Linked DNA regions of Homo sapiens: regions 1 and 3 are each linked to region 2. The links are contacts of gene promoters, found by promoter capture Hi-C in blood cells and fetal thymus (Javierre and others, 2016). All regions are on one chromosome and are shown on one strand. Each heading gives the region's core, a stretch centred on a gene start or on the middle of the fragment in contact. The rest is flanking DNA. Distances are from core to core; before and after follow the strand shown.

Region 1 (2,792 bases), core at 27-2,526, 74 kb before region 2:
AGGACTGCCCAGGCCCCCGGGCCCCGGCCTCACTCACCAGTAGAAGTAATAGGCCAAAGCCACCGCCAGCAGGGCCACACAGATCCCTGAGAAGAGGCAGGCCGGGTAGCTGCTCAGCATCTTCAGCCCTCGGTCCTGTGCTGCCTGAAGCCGGCGAGAAGGACCTGCGGGGAGCAGGTGTCAGCCTGGCCAAAGGGTGAGGAGCCGAGCTCAAGCGGAGGGATTAGGACCTGGCCTGAGCTGCCCAGGCTTGGCAGGGGCCGTTGCCACCCAGAGCATCTGCTCAGCAGGAAGTGGGTGCTGGGCACCCCCAGGGTGCCACCTGCGTGGCCAGCACTGTCCTTCTAGTCACAGAGACCAACTCAAGGGACCCCAGGAGCGCGCTGAAGCAGGACATACACACAGGTTCGTCCTCCTGCGCACAGCTGCGGGCTCTGCCGTCGGGGCACCGGCTAATCCAATAAGCAGCTTTTGGCCAGGAGCTGCTCACTGTAAACAGGCAGAGTCACAGGGCCAGCCAGGATGCAGGTCAACGAGCCCCACCCCAGCACAGACCCCTAGGACCAGGGACCTAAGAGTGCCCACATCTTCCTCCTCACAGCACCAGTGTGTCAAGGGGCCAGGTTGTGGGTGAGTTGGTGAGGTCTACCCTGTGCTCAGCCGTGGGCTAGCAAGATCCCTGAAAGGCCTCCAAGTGATAGGCAAACGTCCTGCATGTGGGGCATGGCTGTGGGCTCAACAGAGAACAGCCACCCAGCCTGCCGGACAGGCCAGGCGCCCGCGACACTCTCTCCAAACTGCAGCAAGGTTTGCTAAACGGTGGTGCTCCGGGTCCCATGTTCAGAGCTCCCACGCTGGAAGAGCTGTGGGGTGGGCCGCCTCTTATCCTCCAGAAGTCAGGCACGTCCCTCCATGTCACTCCAGCCTGAAACCTCTCAATCTGAAATGGAGTTCAAAGGCTAAACTAGGGAGATGAGATCAAAGGACCCAGGGACCAGAGCATCGCCCTGGGAAACCTCCTGGGGCGCGGGAGGCCCCCGACAACAACAGCGACGGGGGTGGGGTGTTATCAAGGGAGCGCCCGCTAGAGGCCCTCGACAGCACACGGGGACGGGGATGGGGTGTTCCTAAGGGAGCGCCCCCTGGAGGCCCGGCCAGTGCATTCTCGCTCAGGGTCACGGGGCCACAGTGGGATAAAGTGAAAGTCACTGCTCGTGCATCTCCCACGGCATCAGACACAACGAACCTGTCCCCAGCAGGGTTTGCCCAGGATGCTCCCCTAGCCTGGTCGCAGCCCCGTCCCAGCCCTGGTGCGGCCCCTGCGTGCTCTGTGGGAAACTGTGGACTGAGAGGTGGGAACCGCTCAGCTCAGTCCTGACATGCTCAGCCTTTACTTCTGTGAACCTGTGAACCTGGTGGAGGAGAGAGCGTGATGGGGCAGCCGCAGCCTTCCCAGGCCTGGGGGAGCCCCTCCTTCCCCCCACAAGGCTTCAGGTGACTGCATCCCCGGCCAACACATTGACCCCATGTGACTCCACGTGACACCCAGAATCGCCCGCTAAGCCACTCCTGGATTCCTGACCCTCCGCAGCTGTGTGAGATAATAGATGTCTGCTGTTTTCGCTGCTAAGTTTGTGGGTAACTCGTTACACAGCAATGTAACAAACACGGTAAGGCAACCAGGCAGATCAATATGAGGCGCACCATTTACTGGAAGTATTGGATGACTATTTATAGGGCTGGAGTTAGTGTCTGAACAAAATAGAAGATTTGCAGGCCGGGCACGGTGGCTCACACCTGTAATCCCAGCACTGTGGGAGGCCGAGGCTGGTGGATCACCTGAGGTCAGGAGTTTGAGACCAGCCTGGCCAACATGGTGAAACCCTGTCTCTATTAAAAATACAAAAAATTAGCATGCCTGTAATCCCAGCTTCTCAGGAGGCTGAGGCAGGAGAATCGCTTGAACTCGGGAGGCAGAGGTTACAGTGAGCACTCCAGCCTGGGCAACAAGAGCAAGACTCTGTCTCAAAAAAAAAAAAAAAAAAAAAAAAAGATTTGCAGATTCAAGAATTCTGACTTCTAATCCTCAGTACGTTCCTCAGTACGTTCCTTCTATCCCAATGAGCGATGTTAACTAACTTAGCTCTCTAGCGTAACATGCACATCATGGAACCAAGACATTCATTTAATCCTGTTAGCAGCCCAAGAAACCCAACAGTGAGTGTGAGTGTGTGTGTGTGTGTGTGTGTGTCTGTGTGTGTGTGAGAGAGAGAGAGAGAGAGAAAGTGGGGGAGAGAGGAGAAATGCAGCCCTCCCACCAGACAACAGCAAGCGTGTGAGCTGCTTCCTCCTCCCTCTGCAGCGAGGACCCAGACAACTTCCTTGGTCCAGCACTGTCTGCACAGTCACCCCAAAATATGCAAATATGACTGGCTGCCCACACAACCTCTGCCTGGCACTTCTTCTAACAAGAACCTGCCTGAGGTATAGAAGGCAATGGCTATGCAGAAGTCATCTGGTTTCATGGGATGCGTCCTAATGACTGCCTTAGAGATAGTTAATGAGAGAGAGAAAGGAGTCTTTTGGAGCTTCCAGAAAGGTTTCAGCCCCTGACAAAAGGTTGCAAAAAGAAATTTCCCTTTTCCTGTCCAGGCATGGTGGCTCACGCCTGTAATTCCAGCACTTTCGGAGGCAGGAGGATCACCTGAACACAGGAGTTCAAGGCTGCAGTGAGCCACGATTGCGCCACTGCACTTAAGCCTTAGTGACAGAGGGAGACCCTGTCTCCAGAA
Region 2 (2,963 bases), core at 17-2,516:
GCAATTCCTAAGCGAGTCGAGTCGGAGCAGCCGCGCCTGCAATTTAAAAGCTGCAGGATCCTGGGTCCCTCTAGCAGCCTGGGCCCGCCGCCCGCCCCACCTCCCAGCCCCCAGCAGGCTCTCGGCGTTGGCTTTCATTTTTAATAAGAGCCGCATGCTCATCACCCTCTGTCTGGAGGCCAACAGCCCACATCTTTCTTCTACTAAGATCATGTTTCCCAGGAAAAAGAACCCAACTGCTCAAGTATTCTCCTAGACAAAGCTTTTAAAATTGTGCTTTTTTTTTTTTAAAGGTCTGGGAAGCCATTTATAAAAGCATTTTCCCCATGTCACTAAACTTCTCTCAAAGTTAAAAAAAAAAAAAAAAACACTGCACCATTTTTAACTGCCTTCAAATACTAATAACCCTCCTTTCCTAAGTACTTGGGACCAATGTTCCAAGGGTCCTGGGGTGGCCAGGAGTGGGTTTTCGCCCCCACGGCTCTTGCCCCCGGACTGACCCCATCCCCTGACCCGCCCGGTGCAAACGCGCCGCCGGTCTCCGGGCCGAACCCACAGCCAACCCCGGGCCCCGCAGCCCTCCCCGCGCGGAGCGGCAAAAGTGAAACTGCTCCCTTGGCCTGGGCGCGCGAGGAGGAGGCCCCTGGGGGGGGTCCCGGGTCCGCCGCGCCCCGAAACCAGGCGGCGGGCGCGTCCTGTCCACGGGGGAGCCGAGCGGGGCCCGGAGCAGAGTCCAGGACGGAGGGATGGGACGTCCCCGCGGGAACCCACTCGCCCTCCCTCGGCCCGGCCCGGGCCCCTCCCGGGCGCCCCGAACCCCCGGGCCTCCCCGCTGGGCCCAGCGCCACCGAGGCTGCTGCGGGAAGCGGCCGGGGCCTCGCGCTGGACCAGGCCGCCGGGGAGGCCGGGGTTGCGGGGGGCGCACAGGACCCGGGCCCAGACCTCCTCCCGGCCCCGCGCCTTCCCAGGCCCCGCGCCCCGCGGAGCGCGGCCGGCCCATTGCGGCGCGGGGCCCCGGGCGGCCCGAGGTCGGACGGCTGGGGCAGGGGCGACCTCCGGCGGCGGGAGGGCGACCTCGGGCGGCGGCGGGGCGTGGGGGAAGAGGGGGGCGGCCCGACCTCGGGTGGGGGCCTCGGTGCTCACCTGCAGCCGCCGCCACCTGCTCGTCGCGCGGGCGTCCCCGGCGTCGCCTCCGCGGCCCCGCTCTGGCCGCCGCGCTCCTCGGCCCTGGGCCCGGCCCGGCCCTGCGTCGGGGCCTCAGCGAGTGCGGCGCCCGCCGCCCCCGGCCCCCATCCCGCCGCCCTCCGCCCTCCGCCCTCGGCCGCGCCGCCGCCGCCACTTCCTGTGCGCGGCGATCCCACAGTTCCGCCGGCGCGCGCGGGGCGGCCGAGGGACACGCTGGGGGGACACGGGGGAAGGACGCGGGGGGGGACGCGGGGGGACGGCGCGGGGGGGGACGCGGAGGGGACACGGGGGCGACACGGCGGGACACGCGCGCGGAGAGAGGTGTGGGCCGAGGGCGCCGGCGGGGCCGGGCGCGGAGCCTGCGTGGGATCCGCTAACGGACGGGGCTGGGGCCCGGGCTGGGGGAGGGGGCGGGCCGGGACCGCGGGGGGCGCGGGGATCAGGGGGGTCGGGGCTGAACGGGGGGAGGCGGCGAAGGACCAGGCTGGGGTCCCGCGAGGGCTCCCCCGGACCGGGTCGGGGGCAGAGGGGGCCGGGGCGCGGGGTGGGGCCGGGAGGGGCCTCCGAGCTCTGCCTGGGCCCCGCCATCTCCCCTGCCGGGGTCTCCTGCGGGCGCCGGGGAAGTTTCGCGCGCGAGCTCCTGCCCTGGTCGGCCGGGGCTTAGGGTCGCCGTCAGGGGTCGCCGCGCGGCGGGCTCGGTGGGGACGGCCCTGCGCGCAGCGGCTCCGCGGAAGGATCGCGTTTCGGCCCACGTGCCGCGCCCTTGGACTTATTCATAGTTGGCACCCGGCTGGCAACACTGTATCGACACTTGACCGTGGCGGGGGTGGGGGTCGCCCCGGGGCTGCCCTGCGAACCCCCGCGGGCGCTGACGCCGTCCCCTCCAGACCGCGGAGCCCTCTCAGCCCCAGGACAGCGGCTGCCGTCCCCCCTCCCTTGCACCTGGCCAGCGGCCGATCCCAGAACCTGCGGAGGCCGCGCAGGTGCCGCTGTCAGGGCAGGGCCCGCTGCGGGCTCCGCCTCCTGCGCCCGGTACCTTGTGTGACCTGGCGCCTGCTCAGGTCCTCAGGCCCCGGCTGGACTTGCTGAGCTTGGGTGGGCTTCATTTGAAAACCATTTAAAATACCAAGTACTGGTACTGTCTACTGTGCCCCTTTTTTTCCTTTTTTTTTTTTTTATTTTTATTATTATTGAGACAGGGTCTTGCTCTGTCGCCCACCCTGGAGTGCAGTGGTACAATCATAGCTCGCTGAAGCCTTGAACTCCAGGGCTCAAGTGATCCTCCCACCTCAGCCTCCCAAGTAGCTGGGACCACAGGCACACACCACCATGTCTGGCTAATTTAAAAAAAATTTTTTTTGTAGAAATGGGGCCTCACGGTGTTGCCCAGGCTGATCTCGAACTCCTGAGCTCAAGTATTCTCCCACCTCCTCCTCTCAAAGTGCTGGGATTACAAGTATGAGCCCCCGCACCCAGCTTGCACCTCCCTTTAAGCCTCCTCAAATTATTTCAGAAAATACTTAGACTAAAATAAAATGAAAGTACCGTGCACCTGTCCTACTCACAGTTCCCTTATTCTTGAAAAAGGAGTTAAGATTTGCAAAGCTCGTGGAATTCACCATTTGTAAAACCTCTCACCCCTCATGTCATTTTGGGTAATCTGTGCCACAGATAAATTCTCACAGGCACCACGGGATGTGTGGATACAGGGATGTGCTGACTTACAGCTATACCTATAATCACAGGAAGCCTGAGAACAACCAGACACTTGGTTAAAT
Region 3 (2,989 bases), core at 82-2,581, 120 kb before region 2:
AAGAAGGCAGGCAGGCTTTTCGGGCTGGCCGTTTGAACCCTGAGCCTAGGTGCAGTGCAAGGGCTAGAAGCACATCGCGCCGTGGAGCACTAGTATTGCACGCCAGGGGCTGCATGCAGTGAGCCACAGGCCAGAGGCCTGCAGCGGGAGTCTACGCATGGGGCTGAACAAGTCAGGTGAAAATCTGCAGGGCTGGAGAGATTATACTTGGCTTGTTGTAGAAGTGTCTCAGGTAGAGACAAAGCATGCAGAAACTTACTCATTCTTCACCCCAAATCTGACCCCAACCGGTAGTCACAACAGGCATGGACAGCCTGGCAACAGCTACTCAATTGCACGTGAGTGAAACACACAGCTGGGTCCAACCACGGCTTTTCCTTCAAATCAACATCAATGCTCAGCAATACCGCAACGAACAGCGTGAGGAAAGATTCTCATGCCACGGTGCGCGAAAGGGAGTCGGGACAGGCAAGGCAGAGAGACTCAAAATTCATCGACAGGACGTGCTTTTTTTTTTTTTTTACACAAGAAAGTGCTGCTTACATTGTTGTTTTGTGTTATTTAGTGATTTGTTCAGCGCTCATCTCTTCCACCAGACTGCGCTTCCTGAGGACAGGGACCTTAAAGCACCTCACATAGGGTGCGCGTCTGGTACACTGTCGCCGAGTACCAGACAACCAGTGTCTCACACGGGGGAAGACGATGAAGACAGCAATGGCATCCTTGGGAAGATGGGCAGGAGACCCCATGACACCTGGCACCTGGGCCTAAGCTGGGAGGCCAGCGGCGTCCCCAGGAGACCACGGCCCAGGCTGGGAGCTTGACCGGCCAGACGCCCGTGGGTGGGCCTGGGCCCTCCCGCCTGGGAGCCTCCAGTGTGGCGCCTGGCTCTGGGTGGGTAACAGGAGCTACAGGCCAGCAATGCCCTTCCTGTCCTCGGCCTGGCTCAAGGACTGGGTGCAGAGGGCATCAGCGATGCCAGGCCTAGAATGTGCCTCACCCCGACAGTGGCCAGCACGGACTGTGGGCTACAGAGTTGCTTCAGCCTGAGCACTCAGCCTGAATTTGGACATAACATCAACTGAATTAAGCTCAGAAGTAGGGTGTAAAGGAAAAAGAAAAAAAAAAGACTGTTCTGGGATTTATGAATTTAATTTAAAAAATGTAAAGGAGCTCTCCTCCCCTTTTCCTTCTGGATGAAAAGCAAAATCCACCCTCCCCCCCCCAAAAAAAAAAAATTCAAACATTCATGGTGTAGTTTTTATTGCTCTTAAAGACTTGGTGTTGAGAAGCACAAGCTAAGCTGTGAGATGGGAAGGAAACCAGATGAGGTGTGACCCCTGCGCCTGGGCCTCCGTCTCCACTCTAACCTAGGGGCTGCCCAGCTCCGCCATGGCTCAGTGCAGAATTTATACATTATATATTAATTTCAAAGGGAGGGAACTTCTATGGGAAACAATAATAATTAAATCATAAAAGATCTAAATTTGCATTTTCCAGGTCACATATGTGCATGGTCGTACCCTTCAGCTTTTTTCCTTAAAGATTTTGCAGGTGTTAGTGAGTCAGTGAATGGCATGGATCTAAACACACATGGAGACGGATGAGCAGCGTGCGGCATGAGGAAGGTGCAGGAGAATCTCTGGGGTGCTCAGCCAGGGGAGCGCATGCCCTGCCCACGGCACAGCTGCCCGAGTGGGCGGGTGGAGGGATGAGATTTCAGATGGAGGGAAGCACATTTCCAAAACAACAGTGTCTGCAAGCGTGTCTCGCATGGTGTCGTTGGTCTCATCTGGTTTCGTTGGTCTGCCCCTTCACCCCTGCGAGGAGCCGTGCTCTGAGCAGGTGTGCACAGGTGGCGTCCCGCACACGCCCTGAGAGCACGGCCCCCACAGACCCGGGGCCCGGCAGCGCCTCCATCATGCAGAACGCTGCCGTCCCCTCCAATCTCCCCAGGACACTTAGGCCCGATGCCTAATTATGTTCTCGGTTTACTTTTCTTCATGCCTCTTTTCTCCATTTGTTTTCCCCTAGAAAACTCAACCTACCTCTATTCAGAACGCTGGTTTCAAGATATCAGAGATAACACCCATTTTGGTTTTTTTACCTTGCTAAAAAGATGAGGGCGCTGTGACTTAGAACAAGCAAGTCGAAAGCCAAATGCAGGTGGGCTGATGGTACCGCAACCAAGTTGAGCGTTCTACCACTGCCATTGCCCCAGGGGCCCCACCTGGCCATGCCGGGGGAGTGGACATGCTGTAGGGAGAAGCATCCCTCGCTCGGCGTGGGCCAGGGGCTCGCTGCAAGGCCAAGGGAGCCAGCATGACCGGCCGAGCGCTGCCCTCTGCTCTGCCTGGACTCTCAGAGACGTCCAGGAGGTAGGGAGCTGGGCGCTCAGGGGTGGCCGGGCCACAGTGACACCGGCCAGGATGGGGGCGGGCCTTCCCCAAGGACACAGTGCGAGGCTGGGGGGTGGGGGGTGCCCCACCTCTAGTTTCCAGCAGGAAGTTGAAAACCACCAAGAGATCAACCAGTAAAAATAAAATCTCTAGAAGTCAATGAGCTCAGTGTTAACAGTCTCCAACCACCTTTAAAAAACAGAGGGTTGACGGTGCCGTCGCTTCTTCTGAAGCATCCTAGAGTCCCACAGGCTGCCCTGTTCTCCCTCCTTGGCTCCTGATCTGTGGGATGGGGGGGCGCGCGGTAGCCCCGAGGGTCCTCCCTCCCCAGCACCCAGTGTGGAGGGACCAGGATCTGACAGCCATGAGAGCGACAAAGGAGCTTTAGGTGCATGGAGAACTCTGCATTTCACTGAGTTCTCAGGGGCCCATCCACTTTAAAAACAGATGTACGTATTTACACACAAGGTCAGATAGGAGCTAGGACAGACAGGGCTCTAGAAAGTGAGGTGGGGCGTTCGCCCTCAGCCAGCCCCAGGACAGGGCAGAGTGAGGGCTCCGACTTCGAGGAATGGACCTGACGTTCGTGC

What was found. Contacts are between HindIII fragments. The CHiCAGO score rates a contact against its expected background, and 5 or more counts as called.
Region 1: a contact is called between a fragment that was not itself captured here and the fragment with the promoter of AGPAT3 in region 2, in 2 of 17 cell types (megakaryocytes and erythroblasts). The highest score is 6.4, in megakaryocytes.
Region 3: a contact is called between a fragment that was not itself captured here and the fragment with the promoter of AGPAT3 in region 2, in 3 of 17 cell types (endothelial precursors, M1 macrophages and M0 macrophages). The highest score is 7.7, in endothelial precursors.

The regions. Positions count from the first base shown.
Region 1 is chr21:43,937,577-43,940,368 of GRCh38, reverse strand. All of the region lies in intron 2 of AGPAT3 (1-acylglycerol-3-phosphate O-acyltransferase 3), which reads right to left. Among named protein-coding and RNA genes, the nearest start is that of TRAPPC10, 73 kb to the left of the region's middle. RefSeq lists enhancers at 147-1,045, 1,289-1,688, 1,046-1,946, 2,225-2,274. The HindIII fragment of the contact is 4,356 bases long and covers 1-2,792 here.
Region 2 is chr21:43,863,526-43,866,488 of GRCh38, reverse strand. It overlaps AGPAT3 (1-acylglycerol-3-phosphate O-acyltransferase 3), which reads right to left and starts at 1,266. Exons shown (of 10, transcript NM_020132.5): 1 at 1,144-1,266. RefSeq lists silencers at 508-827, 948-1,297, 1,848-2,207. The HindIII fragment of the contact is 5,864 bases long and covers 265-2,963 here.
Region 3 is chr21:43,982,931-43,985,919 of GRCh38, reverse strand. AGPAT3 (1-acylglycerol-3-phosphate O-acyltransferase 3) reads right to left here. Exons shown (of 10, transcript NM_020132.5): 10 at 1-2,989. Among named protein-coding and RNA genes, the nearest start is that of TRAPPC10, 28 kb to the left of the region's middle. RefSeq lists a silencer at 737-796 and an enhancer at 2,429-2,989. The HindIII fragment of the contact is 4,574 bases long and covers 1-2,989 here.